Linked DNA regions of Homo sapiens: region 2 is linked to region 1. The links are contacts of gene promoters, found by promoter capture Hi-C in blood cells and fetal thymus (Javierre and others, 2016). All regions are on one chromosome and are shown on one strand. The core of a region is centred on a gene start or on the middle of the fragment in contact, and the rest is flanking DNA. Distances in the headings are between cores, read along the strand shown.

Region 1 (7,620 bases), core at 3,815-6,314:
CTTATGACAGCTCTGAAGTAGCCATTACTTCCTTTTAAGCAATAATGAAATGGTGGCCAAGGGTGCTAAGACCTCCAAGCTCTGATCCTTCTCCTCCATTACATGGCCTCAGGGGCACTCCAGACACTCTCCCCTGCCTTGCCCAGCCCATCCCCAGCACCCACCACCTCTGCTCTACCAGAAGTGCTCTCTCACGCTAACACAGGGCATGGAGCTCCTGCAGGGTTGGCAGGCCAAGGAGGTTGCAGCACAAAAGAAAATACTGTTTGGGCTGGGCATGGTGGCTCACGCCTATAATCCCAGCACTTTGGGAGGCCGAGGCGGGTGGATCACAAGATCAGGAGTTCAAGACCAGCATGGCCTATGTAGTGAAATCCCGTCTCCACTAAAAATACAAAAATTAGCTGGGTGTGGTGGCACGTGCCTGTAATCCCAGCTACTCGGGAAGCTGAGGCAGAATTGCTTGAACCTGGGAGGTGGAGGTTGCAGTGAGCCAAGACTGCGTCACTGCACTCCAGCCTGGGCAACAGAGTAAGACTCCATCTCAAAAAAAAAAAAAAAAATAAAAAATAAATAAAAAAAGAAAAACTGATACCAAAATCTTATAGCAAATTCAAATTTTCCAACTATAGACATCAGATTATTCACAATCTTTCTTACACTTTTGGGCTCCGTTGAAGAGAGCTCGGTCTTTTGGGGTGTCACCAACTTCAATTATCTTGGCGCCAGCCAAGAGTTGCATTATAAGGCCAGACGTGACAATAGGAGAGATCCCTAGCTCCATCAATGTGCCTTGAGGAAACGGGGAAGCAAAACAGTCAATATCAGCTTGGAAACGTAGTACGTTATTTTAAAAATGAATACGCAAAATTTGACTGGGTACCCCTTATATAAAACCAATGTGTTTCAGTTTCCTAGCTGTGTTTAATTTAGAACCCCAAAATATCAACGATTAGTATATAATTCAATTCATTCTGTTCAGCCTGCCAGGCAACAGCTTATTCTGTTTAGGAAGTCACATGGTGTCTAAACAGACTGCTGCATTTAAATTCACCATAAACAGATTCATTCTGGTTTTAGAGATAAGAAATGTTCGTCTCTTCATCAGTTAATAAAAAAAGGATAACATTCAAATAATTTCCAGAGTCTGGAAAAGGAGCCTGTACAATTGTATCTAGTTGTGAATAAGCCTCTACTTCCCATTATGTTAAAATGAGCTACACTTCCAACTGATTTGGAATTTAATTGAACTATATTTTTTAAATGAGTTAATCAAATGCAGTATCAACCTACACATTCAGAATCCTCCCCAGTCCCATAAGTAACTGGTTAGAGGATATAAAACACTGTTACATATTTTTTGACACTATATGTAACCTATAGATATGAAAAAGATACAGCTGAAAAACAAATTACATATTCTGAAGAATGTTATCAATGGAAATGTCATCATTTCAGGTATTCAAAAAGTATTCTAGTTTTTCCATGTTTTTTATTCTCTCTATAGCATAGACTTATCTTCTCATTACAGGTTTTGTACTGCATTCAAATACAATTCCAAATATGATGGTATGCCTTGGTGCTGAACTCAGCATTTAATAAGGCTATTCAACACAGCACTTTAACATTCTTCACTCTATTTTCCAAGTCACTCTCTAAGTTCCATATAAAGCCAAAGCCTATTAATTTAACTAAGTGAAGCTAGGTAAGCCTACACTCTACAGAGAAAAGACAGAGCCAGAGTCCTACCTCTGTTAGAGGCTAGAATCACTCTCATCCAATAGAAAGGGTCAGCTGAATCTGAAGACATGATCCCAAACAGGGGAATCTGGGAACAGGCAAAGAGCAAAACAGTCAGCACTCCTGTTTCCAGCCACTCTTATCCCCCTCCCCAATACGAAATACAAGCCTGAGCTTACCTGGCAGCACACTAAGAAGATAAAGAGGGTGATAGCGGTCCACAGCACTTTCTCCTTAAACTGAATCTAGAGTAGGAGAGAATGAATTGAAGCAGGGAGTTACTTTGAAAAGCAAATTAATAAAAATGGACTCCAATCAGACCCCTTTCTCTAAAAATGGACTCCAACCAGACTCTTTTCTCTGTTCAGCAGAGAAGCCAAACCATGTACCAAACATAAGTACCATGTACTGCGTAACTTCCTCTGCACAGAGCACAATGCAAGGACCTACAGGCATCACCCCAGCTCACCTCACACCACAGAGCATTACCTTTATTTTACAACTGAGCCTTAGAAGAGCTAAATAATTTGTACCAAACCCCAATGCTAAAGTGAGTTTGAGTCCCAAACTGTGCTTTTAACCATTAGCATTAACAGTTAAGACTCAAGAACAAAGAATGTCACAATAGAACATGACTTGTAAAACACACGAGCAACCACTTTTCATTTGAGTTTCAGTCACAAAACCTTGTTATTCTAGAGTCAAGTAATTTGGAATTGCTCAATAGTGTATTTTCTATGAATTAAGGGTAAAACAGTGTAATAAACCATATTGGGGAAGGGCAGGAGAGTTGCATGTTTAACCTACTAGTAACATTTGTTTAAGGATTTTCACATCTTCTCAGGTACATAGGTTGCATAGGTGACAAGAATCACTGTAAAGATGACTATTAAGTATTAAGTATCATTAGAAAACCTCCCACCCAAAACCTCTGTCACTAAAGAGTAGAGTGGGAACTCTTCCAGGTTTTCTGCCTCTGAAACTGAGTGTCTTCACTAATACCTGCTGCCTACACTACATTAATGGCTTTAGAGGGCTTAACAAACATTAATTATTGTACAGACGGAAGATTCTGAGGTTGAAATACCTTGTGAGAGACTGACAGTATTAAGTGACAAAACTGTGTTCTTTAAAAACACTTCTAGGCAGGCACTGAGTCAGCATTCCTGGCCCTCTGGCCAGAACTGGAGTCACAGTCCTCTAACTATACATGCAGGCAAAGTAGGACACAGTCATACGGCCACACAACAGTGGGTGAATCAGTGTTCAGATACTCCATCCAAAGCTGGGGGCATTCACAGGACTCTTCTTCTCTTGAGAATGGTCCTCTTCCCACCTACCATCCCACCACACTAAGAAATTAGAAAGTGGCCAAGAGAAGGCAACGCCATTTCAGAGTAACCTGTCTGAAATGAATCTTGATGGGAAACAAAGAGCAGACAATTTTTTCAAAACTCCCTTTCTAATCACCAAGTCCTCTCTCCTGGTTACAATCAAATTTAACATCAAAACCCCAAAAGCTCTTTATCCAAGTCCTGTCTCCTCTGCTTCTTAGTAGCCCCTAAATCCATTCTTGCTCAGTACCACAGTTCATCCTCTGATGTGAAAAGCCTCTAAACCAACTCTAGTCCTCTCCTTTTCTTCCAAAGTGACATTCTCATGTCTGGCCCTTGTTATTCATCTCCTAATGTTCCCCACCTACAATTATGTTCTATCAATAGCAACTACATCTAATAACCTCCCATCCAAACATGCTACACTCTTGTCACCAATGCCTTTGCAAACTATATACTCCTTTTATTTGGAATTCCTTTCCGTCCCTTCAAGGAGACTTCTATTTCTCCTTCAAAACCACCATAAGACATCATGTCTCCCAGAGTTAATCCCTTCCTGAGCCACTGCTATACCTTGCACGTATTTCCCTTGTTCCGTCTACCACACTGAGTTACAAGGCCAAGGTCACATAGCTATTAAGGTGCTATGTAAAGGGTGGGACCTAGGCTTGCCTGCCTCCAGAGCCATGCCCCTTCGCTACACTGGAATTGAGGGGGTAAAGCTTTACAAATTCGTCCATTAAAAGCAGCACATGGGCATTTATATGAAACTATTTTACGTAAAAAAATGAAAGTGGATTCCAAGCACCCAAGTGTCCATGTGAATGCTTTAACAACAGTTTGAAAAATAATGTGAGGACACAAACATTTTATTCCCCACTCTCTAACCTAGGAACCTAATGAAACTTTTTTTCGTTGACAGCTGTAGTTACACTGGCAACACTCACTCCACACAATTTCTGATTCAGCACAGCTCTAAATTTAATCTTTCCTTGTTTTAATACACCGTCTGTGAAAAGCAGCAGACTTCACAAAAGAATAGCCTTTATTCCCCCTATTGTGACAGCCTACATAAAAGGTACAAAATCATTTGTAAATACTAAAGTGACAGCCCTTCCCTTTAGCAGCTGGATACAAAGGGCATCTCCTGGGAAAAAAAACCAACCCGTGATCTGCTCCCGTTGGAGGTGAAAAAGGGAGGGTAACTCAATCTGCTATCCTAACTGAGGCCTTATTCATTCATGGCCCGGATCCATTTTTGGGACAGGGCAACCGGAGGCTTTGTTCTCGGAGCAACATCCACCAAAGATGCTCCAAATAAAGCACAGTGATTTCAGTGGAAATTTCCACACAACCAGGTCACCTTTCGACAGCTCTCCGGAATAACAGAGCACAACTACACTCCAAGGGAAGAGAAGGGAGAGTTTCCATTGCCGTGCTGAAGCCATTTTTAATCATACTGTAAACTTCCAGAGTCCAGACAGTTTCCTGAAACCTTCTTTGTTGGCGATTTGGGGTACTTACCTTCCTCTCTGGCTTCTGAATTTCCGGCAGGATGACACAGAAGGGCTTGATGACTTCCAGAAATTTGACTTTGATGGGAGAAACAAAACAGGAAGAGTTGGGACACAGAGAAGTAACCTTCCGCGCTACCCAGGGACGCCTTCTGCCCACGACGAGTGAGAGCAGGGGCCAGGGGAGCCGGCCGCACCCCGGACGCGTGGGGATACTCGAGAAGGGCCGGGGGCACGGGCCGCGTTCTGCAGGGGGCCGGTCAGGGTTGGCCGGCGGGCGCCCGACCGCACGGGTGTGGGGAAGGGGGATCTGTTCCGTCCCGGCCTCAATAGGGCTTCCCTACAGGACTCACTTGCCATGGCGGCGGCTGCTCGGGCTCCGGGTCCCGCTTCAGCTCAGCTCTGCTCCGCGTGAGGCGACGCTGCCCGCGGCCCAGCGCGTTCCACTGCACAGCAGCTCCGCCGAGAGACACGTCAGTGCTAGCCCGGCGGCAAGCGGCGCGGCGCGGCGCGGGGCGGGGCCGGGGCCGGGCCTCGGATCGCTTCCGCTTCCTGCCACGCGCGCCCGCCGGCCGCCGCGCTTCGCCGCGCCGCGCCGCTTCGCCGAGACCTCAAGCCCCGGCATGCAGCGGGGCTCCTGGGGCCTGTCGGGAAGGGGCCTGGCGCGCGGGGCCCGCCGGGACTGGGGGTGTGCGGCTGCGCAGACTTGGTAACGCGAGAGCGCGCGGGGAGGGTGTGTCACGCCTCCCGAGACTGGGGCTGTGCGGCCTCACGGAGAAACTGAGGCAGGCGCGAAGCGTCGAGTGCGCGCGTGGCCCTGCAGGCAGGCGGAGACCCTGGTGGCTCCCATACACGTAACAGCACTCACTGCTCTTTGACGTTAGTGAATAGACCGTAAGCTCCCTGGAGCAGGGACCTTATCCCAGCGTCTACCGCGGCGCCCGTCACCTAGTAGGTCTCCGTCATTACCTGCTGAGTAGGGCGCGGGCTGGTGGGGCTTACCGAGCACCCTCGCTGTCTGAGTCATTAAGCAAACCCGGAGGCTTGTCGTGGGTGTGGGTCCCCTTCCATCTGAGAACGAATGGGATGAGTTTCTGGAGAGACTTGGCCGGAGAAGGGCCGGGGCAGCTCGGGAAGTAGTCTGCCTCACAGAAGAATTCAGGAAGGCCTCCTGGGAGAGTACCTTTGTGCCGAGCCTTGATAGATTCTGGCGAGAAGGAATGAGGGAACAGGTTGAGGAGACTGTTGTGGGCAAAGCATGGCGGTGTGATTGCCTAAGATCGGTGTGGGAAAGGGGGATAACGGGTAGGGCAAGGGATGCTGGGGCTGGGGGTTGGAATTTACTTTCAGGCATCTGTAGTCAGTAGGTATGATGTCATCTAAGAGAAACAGACTTAATGCTGTGAGCATTTAGCAGGGAGGAGGTGGGCACGCCTTGTGGGATCAGGCAAGGTTTCATGGAGCTAAACCTTGACCAGGACAGGTAGAAGTTGAGGGTACATATGTGGCAAGATGCTTTTTTGCTTTTAATTTAGGTGTCAACTATTTGGATTTTTCCATTCTCACCCATTTCTAGCAGATAATCAGGTTTTGTACATTCTTGGCTCAGAAAGTTGGACAGGACAGGAAGTCTTTTTTGGAATACAAACCCACTGGTGGAAAATTCAAAGGACTACTGGGAACAGGCAGGTAACTTCAGTGAAGTGGTCTAGGTGTGACATCACTTGATATCCATCCCCCACCAAAAAGGGGAAAAAGAAGACATTGACTCTTTATTCAGAGTCTGAAATGCAACCCATCTTCACTTCCAGGACCCACTGATGATCTCTTCTGGAGTTTTGGCCTGAAGCTAAAACTGGCAGCCCCTGGACTAAGTTCAGCATATAGACTAGATCCGATATTTAGCCATTATGCACCCTGCACCATATTGATGGTTAAAATGTTGAAATATTTCGAGGGTAAATAGTATAGTAATTACAATAAATATTACAATTAGTTAATAGAAATTTTAATATAAACTCATTGGTTTGTGCTAATAGTTGTAGGATGTCAGTACCATTGATAACAGGCCTCCTGTTGTTTCCACATTATGACACAATCTGGCCTGTGTCACTGCAGGGACTGCAGCCAAGTTACGTGTGTTAAATCACTGATTGCTTTAGGAGAATCACTAGTTTAAAATATTTTTATTGGACTGGGTGCAGTGGCTCACACCAGTAATCCCAGCACTTCGGGAGGCCAAGGCAAGAGGATCACTTGAGCCCAGGAGTGCAAGACCAGCCTGGGCAACATGGCAAAACCCTGTCTCTAGAAAAAAATACAGAAAAAAATTAGCTAGGCATGGTGGCGCATGCCTGTAGTCCCAGCTACTGGAAAGGCTGAGGTGGGAGGATCCCTTGAGCCTGGGAGGTCGAGGCTGCAGTGAGCTGAGATCTCACCACTGCACTTCAGCCTGGGTGACGACAGAGTGAGACTCTGTCTCAAAAAATAATAAAATATTTCTATTGTAAGCACATACATTAATTCTTCGGAAAATAGGTATGCAGTGTTTTATATTTATACATTTAAGATTTTATTATAGGATATTAGAAACATCCACCTAGAATGAAAGAGACCACAAAAATCTGGATGAATTTTCAATACTTTTAAGTATGATAAATGTAAATCTTGATATCTGCAGAAGAATAAACAAGAAATTTGTAATAATAATGAATCCCCGCCTGGAACTTCTTTTGATACTGTTTAAGAATCAGCACAAAATAAAATTTATAATTTATAAGATAAACTTTATTACATAAAATCTATAGTTTTGTAGTGAAAAAATAATTTTTTTCAACCAAAAATTTGACATTGCTAGTGACAGAAATGTTGGGTACTGAGTGCTCAGAAGTTCTATTGTTAAAAGATCAAAGTGTTAAACATATATTCATCAGAATGCTCTTAAAGCTTGTGCAAGTGAAGAAAAATTGTGATTATCGATGAGAAAAGAACTTAAAAGAATATAATCAGTTTCATAAATTAAGTATTTGAAA
Region 2 (7,620 bases), core at 2,006-4,505, 560 kb before region 1:
TGTGTGAACAAATGGAAATAAAGCAGGGACTGTGAACATTTGTTTTTGGTCTGTTGAAGATCTCTCATAATTTAATTCTTAATTTTGGGAATAGTGCTTTTATCAAGTGCTTTTTATTCATTAAATAATGGATTTGCTTCTCAGCAGGTTTGCAAGGCAAGCATTTACATTTTACATATTAGAACACTGAGTTATTCTAGTACCAGAGTGTTGAAAGTGGTGCCAGAGTGTTGAAAGAGTTGACGTGGCTTATGTCACAGAATGGAGTAGTGGAGTGAGGCCTCCATTTTTGTAGTTTTTGCATCCTTCCTGTGAGTCATGTTTTACTCAGCATCAAGGAAACAGTGATGAGCAAAGCAGAGATGGTTCCTCTCAAGAGGCAAGGGATTGAAAGGTCATGTGGGGAATCGACAGTGCCAGTGAGTGCCAGGCTTTCTGCCCCTCTTTCCTCTCTGCAGGAGTTCGCTCCCTGTCTCCACCTAATGAATTCCTGCTCAGCCTCAGGATGTGTTACTTAAGGTTACTGTGTCAGGGAGCCATCCGTGGCCTGCCACACTCAGTCAAGTCCTGTGGTACCCTCTCGTTTTCCTTTGTACCTCTTCTCCACCTCATATACCACGGTTGGAATGTGTGTGATTACTGAACTAGCTTCAATAGGGCAGGGGTTTTGTCTTTTATGCTCATCTTTATGTTAACAGCTAGGTGTTCAGACCAATCTATGACACGTAGTTGGGTTATTGAATGTTTGCATGAGTGGCTTACAAACAGCTTAAATATTGGCAGGTGGGTTGAGGGATTACTGGGGAAGTCTGTAGAAGACCAGTTGTGAGGAACTGATGCTGAATTCTGTTTCAGACATGGCAAAATGGAGGTGCTCGGGACATCCAAGTGGGAGTGTCCCTGGGCAGGTGGATATTCAGGCCTGGAATTATAAGGTCTGGTGTGCAAGTGGTAAATGTGGGGCTGCCGGGCCTAGACATGGTTATGGAAAAGGTGAGAAGGAGGCTGTGGGAGGGGACAGTGCCTAGGAAGGGTATAGAATAAGAAGAGATCCAGAACTGAATATTAAGACGACAAAGTAATAGTGGCCACCTGGGTTGACAAAGACCAGGACTCTCCTTACCTGGGACGAGAAAGACCAGGACTGTGGTGTCATGAAGCCAAGTGGAAAAATGTTTCCAGGAGTGAACCATCTGAGGCTGAAGAGACCGAGCAGTGCCTTTTGGCTGTAGGAGTGGATCACTGAAGCCTTTTACCCATTGGTGACTTGAGAACTGTGTTGGTGTGGGGATGGGAATTGGACGGAAGTGAGACTTAACTTTGAGTCCTGACAAAGCATTTCGCAAACAGGCTGGGAAAGGGATGAGTGAGGGCCTTCAGGAGGCTGTGCTGCTTGAATGTTCTACTCTAAGGTTGGGGACACCAAGTGTGTTGAATGCCATTGGGAAAGATCCAGTTGAAAATGAGAAGTTGAACATAGGGATTAGGAGATTGTGCAGGGGGAAAATGGGGGATCCAAGGACAGTGGAAGGATGGGAGGAGCAAGAAGGAAGACCCTCCAGAGTCGTGCTCTGCAGTCGGATCCCTGGATGGAAATCCCAGGCCTGCCGCTCTCTGTGACCTCAGGCAAGTCTTTCCGTGCAAAATGGAGTAGGGCTGTTACCTGCTTCCTAGGATGGCTGTGTGGGTCACATGCTGTCATAATGCAAGGTGGCGTATAGCAAATGCTTGTTAAACAGCGACGGTCTCGCCGAGCTCTGGCCTGAGCCGGGGGCAGAGGGTTGGTCCTGTCCTGGGGGTTGGAAGCCGTGGAGGCCACGTTTAATCAGTGTTCACAGTGGTGTGCCCGTGGACCTGGCCTCACGCACGCCCGGCCTTGGGAGCCCCTGCGGGAGGGTGCATACCCTGACCTGCCCGAGAGGCGTCTGCCGCAGCCCCTGCTTCCCCTAGGGAACCCCCGGGCGGCTGTGCCTCACGGAGGGGCCCTGCTTTACCGCGGCTGCATACCACCTCGGGCCATTTGGTCAGCTGCTTCACCAGCTCTCTTCATCCTCTTACTCTCCCTGAATCTTTTTCTTCGTTTTTTGGAGCAGTCAGAAAGCTTGGCCGAAATCAAGATAACTCGCTGGGCCCGCGTGCAGATTGGTGGGCGCCCTCTGCTGGGCCGGCGGGCCTCTCGCAGGCCTGAGGAGCGAGCTGCGCCTGCGCCCTGGTGTCCCTTCGTAACACTGCGGCACGTCACGAGGCGGGCACCGGGGAGTATGGGCGAAATCGCAGGCGCAGACGGCGGGCTCGGGCTAGAAAAGTCGCGCATGCGTGGGGCTAATTTAAAGGCGGCGCGGCTCCAACAGAACCAAAGCCAATTCTCCGGCTGTGGCGCCACCTACGGGTGTGGGCTCGTAAACGGCCTCCTCTGGCCGGACTAGGACTGGGTCTGGGGTCGGCGGGCTCAGGACCACTGGGCTGCTGAGGGGCTTAGCCATGGGGACCTGGGCTCTCAGCTGCCCTGGAAAGCCACAGGGCTAGCTGGGCTGGCCAAGGCCGGTGGCTCCCCCAGCATCCTGTGGTGGGTGCATCCCTGGGCCCAGTGGGGCATCCGGTGCTGCCCTCCCCACCTACGGGCTTACATCCTTTGGTTGCTGGGACAGAGCGCCCTACGCCACGCGCAGCCCTGCGCTTCCCTGATCCTCGGTTTCCCCAGTAGTAAACAGGGCCTCAGTTTCCCCCTTGTAAATCTCAGGGAGGAGGTGAAGTGGGGCCCTAGGTGTAAAGCCAGGTTCAGGCTGGGCATCCCTTGGCGCAAGGTGACATGCCCCAGACACCTGACACCTCTCAGTCTCAGACCCAGCGTACTTTCTCTGTGGCCCTCATGTGGCCGTATAGGAGTGGCCCACCCACTCCCACTCCCATTCAGATCCCCAGGCCACAGTGCCTTTTGTCCAGCCTTGGCCAAGATGCCTGACCCTAGTGGCCTGGCCCTGGCTGCTTCCATGGCTGCAGCTTTGGGATGTCCCTGTAGTCATAGGTGGCCTCATGGCAGTCCCCCAGCCTTGAACCTGGACCCTGGCTCAGGGAGGGGAAAACACGGCTGAAGAAGGGCTGGGTGTCACTTTCTCTCTTCCATTTGTCTTGGAGGCTGTCATGGGAGAAAACCCCAAAGGACCCAGTGCGCCCTCACAGTTTCACCACAAGTATCCTGACCGGGCGTCTGGTGCCGAGCTGATAGTGCAGGCCCCGGCCGCAGCCCCGCCGGAAGCCCATGCTGCCAGCGGTTGGGGGCCGCAGGCTCAGACAGGAAATGCCCCCGAGTGTACCCCAGGGCCCTCTGCAAAGGCCTGATGCTTTGGATGAGGCCTGGCGCCATTTTGAAGCTGGGCCTGACTCTGGGACTCTGGCCTGGTTCTGGGGCTGGTGGCCTGGGATCTGGGGACTGCTTTGTCACCTGCCTGGGCAGGTGTGGGAGATGACAGGGAGGGAAGAGAGAACCTTCAAACTGGGCTAGACCTGAAGCGAAAGCTGAATGATGCAGCCTGTCCCCTACCATGGCCAACCCCTTCATGGTGCCCCCAGCCCAGCCCTTTAGGGTCTCAGCTTCCATCAGGCCCTTAGTTCCATATGTGGTGTGACAGGCCCAGGACTAAATGCAGGGGACACAGAAGGGAGCAGACAGCAGAAGTGCTGGGCATCAGGAAAGGCAAGTCAGAAGGTAGGGCCATCAGGAGGGTCCATCGCAGCATCTGAAGGATTTGCTTGTGGGGGTTGGTGGGGAGGGAGGAGCCCAGACTCCTTTTTTGACTTCCACTCAGGGGATAGAATCCAGAAAGATTTAAGACGAGTGTCTCAGTCTGTTAAGGCTGCTATAACAAAATACCATAGACTGGGTAGCTATAAATAGAAATTTGCTTCTTACAGTTCTGGAGGCTGGGAAGTCCAAGATCAAGGCACCGGCAGATTTGGTGTTGAGAGGTCCTGCTGCTTGGTTCAAAGATAGCACCTTCTCGTGTCCTCACATGGTGGCAGAGATGAGGGAACTCTCGGATGTATCTTATAAGGGCACTAATGTCCATTCATGAAGGCTCTACCCTCATGGCCTAATCACCTCACAAAGGTGCCACCCTCTAATGCTTCACATTGGGGGTTAGGTTTCAACATAAGAATTCTGGGGGGATGCAGACATTCAGTCTGTAGCAGTGGGAAGGACAGGAGCCTGTTCAAATGCTGATGGGAAGGAAGGAGGTAACAGGGACATAAAGGCTGAAGATCCAGGAGAGAAGGGGCCAGTGAATAGATCCCAGTAGAGCAGGATTGGGTGGGATTGAGGGCTTAAGGCAGTGATCTCATGGGAGAGCCCTGAGAGACTGTGCCTTCATTAGCACTGAGGAGATCAGCAAAGACCTGTTCAAGCTTCGCCTCCTGGGCAGCCTTCCCTATTCTCCAGGTGGGCTGAGATGTCCCTACCTTACACTACTGGACACTGCTTTCTGAAGTGGAATGGACTGTTTGCCTCCCTACACTGGGTGCTCTATTTCAGCAGAGTTTAAACAGAGGCAGCACATCCATTCATTCAACAAATATCTTCAACTGAGTGCAGTGGACTTTATAAATGTCCTCCCAACACTTTGGGAGGCTGAGTTGGGAGGATCATTTGAACCCAGGAGGTTGAGGCTGCAGTGAGCTATGATCACACCACTGCACTCCAGCCTGGGTGACAGAGAGAAACCCTGTCTTGAAAACAAAAACAATTTTTGTATTTTTTGTAGAGACGGGGTTTTGCTGTGTTGCTCAGGCTGGTCTCAAACTCCTGGGCTCAAGTGATCCACCTGCCTTGGCCTCCTGAAGTGCTGAGATTATAGGCATGAAGCACCATGCCTGGCCTATTTGCCATTTTTAAATAATGGATGAGGTTGGTCATTTTTCCTTGTGAATTTGCCTTCTTATGTGTGGTTTATGCATTGTTGAGGTTTTTGCCTTTTTCAAAGGTGAGTAGGAAAGCTAGTAACAGAAAAATGGGTGCTCATTGTTATTTCTTTTTTTTTCTTTCTTTTTTTCTTTTTGAGACAGAGTCTTGCTCAGCCACCCAGGCTGATCTTGCCCGGGTGCAGTGGCGTGATCTGGGCTCACTGCAACCACCGTCTCCCAGGTTCAAGGGATTCTCCCACCTCAGCCTCCCAAGTAGCTGGGATTACAGGCACCCACCATCATGCCTGACTAATTTTTGTATTTTTAGTAGAGACGGGGTTTCACCATGTTGGCCAGCCTGGTCTTGAACTCCTGACCTCAGGTGATCCACCCACCTCGGCCTCCCAAAGTGCTGGGATTACAGGCATGAGCCACTGCATCCGGCCTCATTATGATTTCTAAAAGTCAGCAACTCCGAGGGTAGACAGGAGTGTTCAGGAAAGGGCGCTGCCCTGGGAGGGACAGGGACTGGAAGACCAGAGGGAGGGCTGCATGCGTATTGTTACAAATAAATGCAATCTGAATGGCTAAAAACAAACAAACAAACTATACAAACACACACCAAAGAAAAATCCACTTTGTAGTGGGCACTGTTTTGGGCACCAGCAATATGATAGTGATAAATGCTATGAAGGAAATAAAATGGGTGATATGATAAATGGATGTAGTCTGGAGGGTCAGGAGGGCATCCCTTAGAGGAGACTCCTGAGCTGAGACCCAGGACAGCTGAGAGCTGGGCAGGGTGGTGTAGCAGGGTGTGGGCTGGGTGGCCATAAATCCTTCAGCCTCTTTTCTCTTGGCCTCTTCCTCACCCCATCCAGGCCTCTGGTGGCTGCAGGACCTCCTGCCTGCAAGTCAGGTCTCATGCATACCTGCCCTCTAGAGCGCTCCAGCTTCTCAGCTTCCAGCTTCCTCTCCCCTAGGCTTGGGTCCTGGTGCCTGCAATGGCCCCAGCACTCATGCCCCCTAGACTTTGCGTCAAGGAGCTGTCATACTCATGCCAAGCTCCTGATGGGTGTCTGACCCACTCAAGCCTCCGGGCTTTCTGTTTCTCTTCTCTGAGCCTCACATTGCTCACCTGGAGAATGAGGACCATAACGATATCAGGACTGGAAGGAGCTCAGAGGTATGCTGCCTGGGAAAGCCCCTGGCGCAGCACCGGCTCAAGGAGCAGGAGTCTCTTCCTTTGACAGATACCAGGGTGACAAGTATAATGCTTTGATTTGAACTAAGAGTAGCTGTTTACAAAGTGCTTTCTTTATAAATGTCCATTTATTCATTGGTTCAGACTGCAGATCGAGGTCTCAGCAGTCTGAACCACCTATTGGGTTGGAGCCCTAGGTGTGGAGGGAGAAGCCAGCCCTCGCTGAGACAGACAGACCTGGGACAGGTCCCTCTCTGCAGCCGGCACCTGTGTGAACTTGGGCAAGTCCCTGACCTCTCTGGGCCTCAAGTCTTACTGCACAATGACAGATGTCCAAGGGCCTTCTAGCATTGATGAGCTGGGATTCTGGGGCCAGTTAGTGCAGGCAGAGTCCCAGAAGCAGCCTCAGTGGAGGGAGGGAGGAAGCACAGATTTTTGTTTTTATTTTATTTTTCCAAATTCCTGTTCCTCCACAGTGCTGGGATGAGGCAGGTATGAGGTCCCTACGGCGGGTCTCATGGTTGCCTTGTCAGTGAACGCTGGGGGTGCTGTGATGCAATGTGGATCCTTCCTGACCCCTGTGACCTGTGCTAGCAGGGTGGGGCCTTCTGTCTGTCTCCGTCTCATGTTTACCCTCCTGGGGGGTGCGCAGAAGGCACATGGGCACACACATGCAGCTCTTCCAATGCTCAGATGTGCGCATGCCACTCTCACACCTGTGACTGTCACCGAGGCTCACAGACATGCACACACGAGTGAACACACGCAGGTGCACACACGGCGCTAGGCAGATTCACACATGCCAGATACGTGCACTCGCCATGTCCCTGGCCCTGGGGATACAGTCGGGAGTGGGCAGAGTCCCCGCCACAGGGACCTTGTGCAGCCCACAGAGATGCCTGCAGAGTGGAAATGATAAGGAGCCCGTTCACGCTCTGCCAGGTGCGGCTCTGGCTGCCACTGTCACCAGTGAGGGAACTTGCACAGCATGTGAGCCTGGCGTGCCGGTCTCAGAGCCTGTGTTCTCGCCTTCTGCACTACCCATCCTTTCTCACAGACTCTCCCCTTCATGCACAAGTGCACAGACTCCCAGAGGCATGCAGAGGCACACAGGCTGCTCTGGGGCACACGTGCGTGCAGAAACACTCTGCGTGGTGTGCTCACACGGTGAGTGCACCCTGCCGCTCTGTGCTACCACGCGCTGCTGCTCTGGAGAGCACCTGTCTGTTTTCTTTAAAAAAATTTAAATATAGGCTAGGTGTGGTGGCTCACGCCTGTAATCCCAGCACTTTGAGAGGACCAGGCGGGCGGATCACGAGGTCAGGAGATCGAAACCATCCTGGCTAACATGGTGAAACCCTGTCTCTACTAAAAATACAAAAATTAGTGGGCGTGGTGGCATGCGCCTATAGTCCCAGCTACTTGGGAGGCTGAGGCAGGAGAATCGATTGAACGCAGGAGGTGGAGGTTGCAGCGAGCTGAGATTGCACCACTGCACTCCAGCCTGGGCGACAGAG

What was found. Contacts are between HindIII fragments. The CHiCAGO score rates a contact against its expected background, and 5 or more counts as called.
Region 2: a fragment that was not itself captured here is called in contact with the fragment with the promoter of SEC61A1 in region 1 in 8 of 17 cell types (naive CD4 T cells, fetal thymus, non-activated CD4 T cells and 5 more); the score reaches 12.9 in naive CD4 T cells.

What each region holds. Positions count from the first base shown.
Region 1 is chr3:128,049,881-128,057,500 of GRCh38, reverse strand. SEC61A1 (SEC61 translocon subunit alpha 1) reads right to left here and starts at 5,064. Exons shown (of 12, transcript NM_013336.4): 1 at 4,942-5,064; 2 at 4,599-4,666; 3 at 1,920-1,985; 4 at 1,750-1,828; 5 at 661-792. The coding sequence starts at 4,948. It overlaps LOC102723759 (a long non-coding RNA gene), which reads left to right and starts at 5,326. Exons shown (of 4, transcript XR_007096073.1): 1 at 5,326-5,539. RefSeq lists a silencer at 4,751-5,390 and a cis regulatory region at 4,883-5,499. The HindIII fragment of the contact is 3,738 bases long and covers 3,799-7,536 here.
Region 2 is chr3:128,612,390-128,620,009 of GRCh38, reverse strand. RPN1 (ribophorin I) reads left to right here. Exons shown (of 10, transcript NM_002950.4): 10 at 1-41. Among named protein-coding and RNA genes, the nearest start is that of RPN1, 35 kb to the left of the region's middle. RefSeq lists enhancers at 1,831-1,880, 1,596-2,107, 1,901-2,190. The HindIII fragment of the contact is 2,303 bases long and covers 2,104-4,406 here.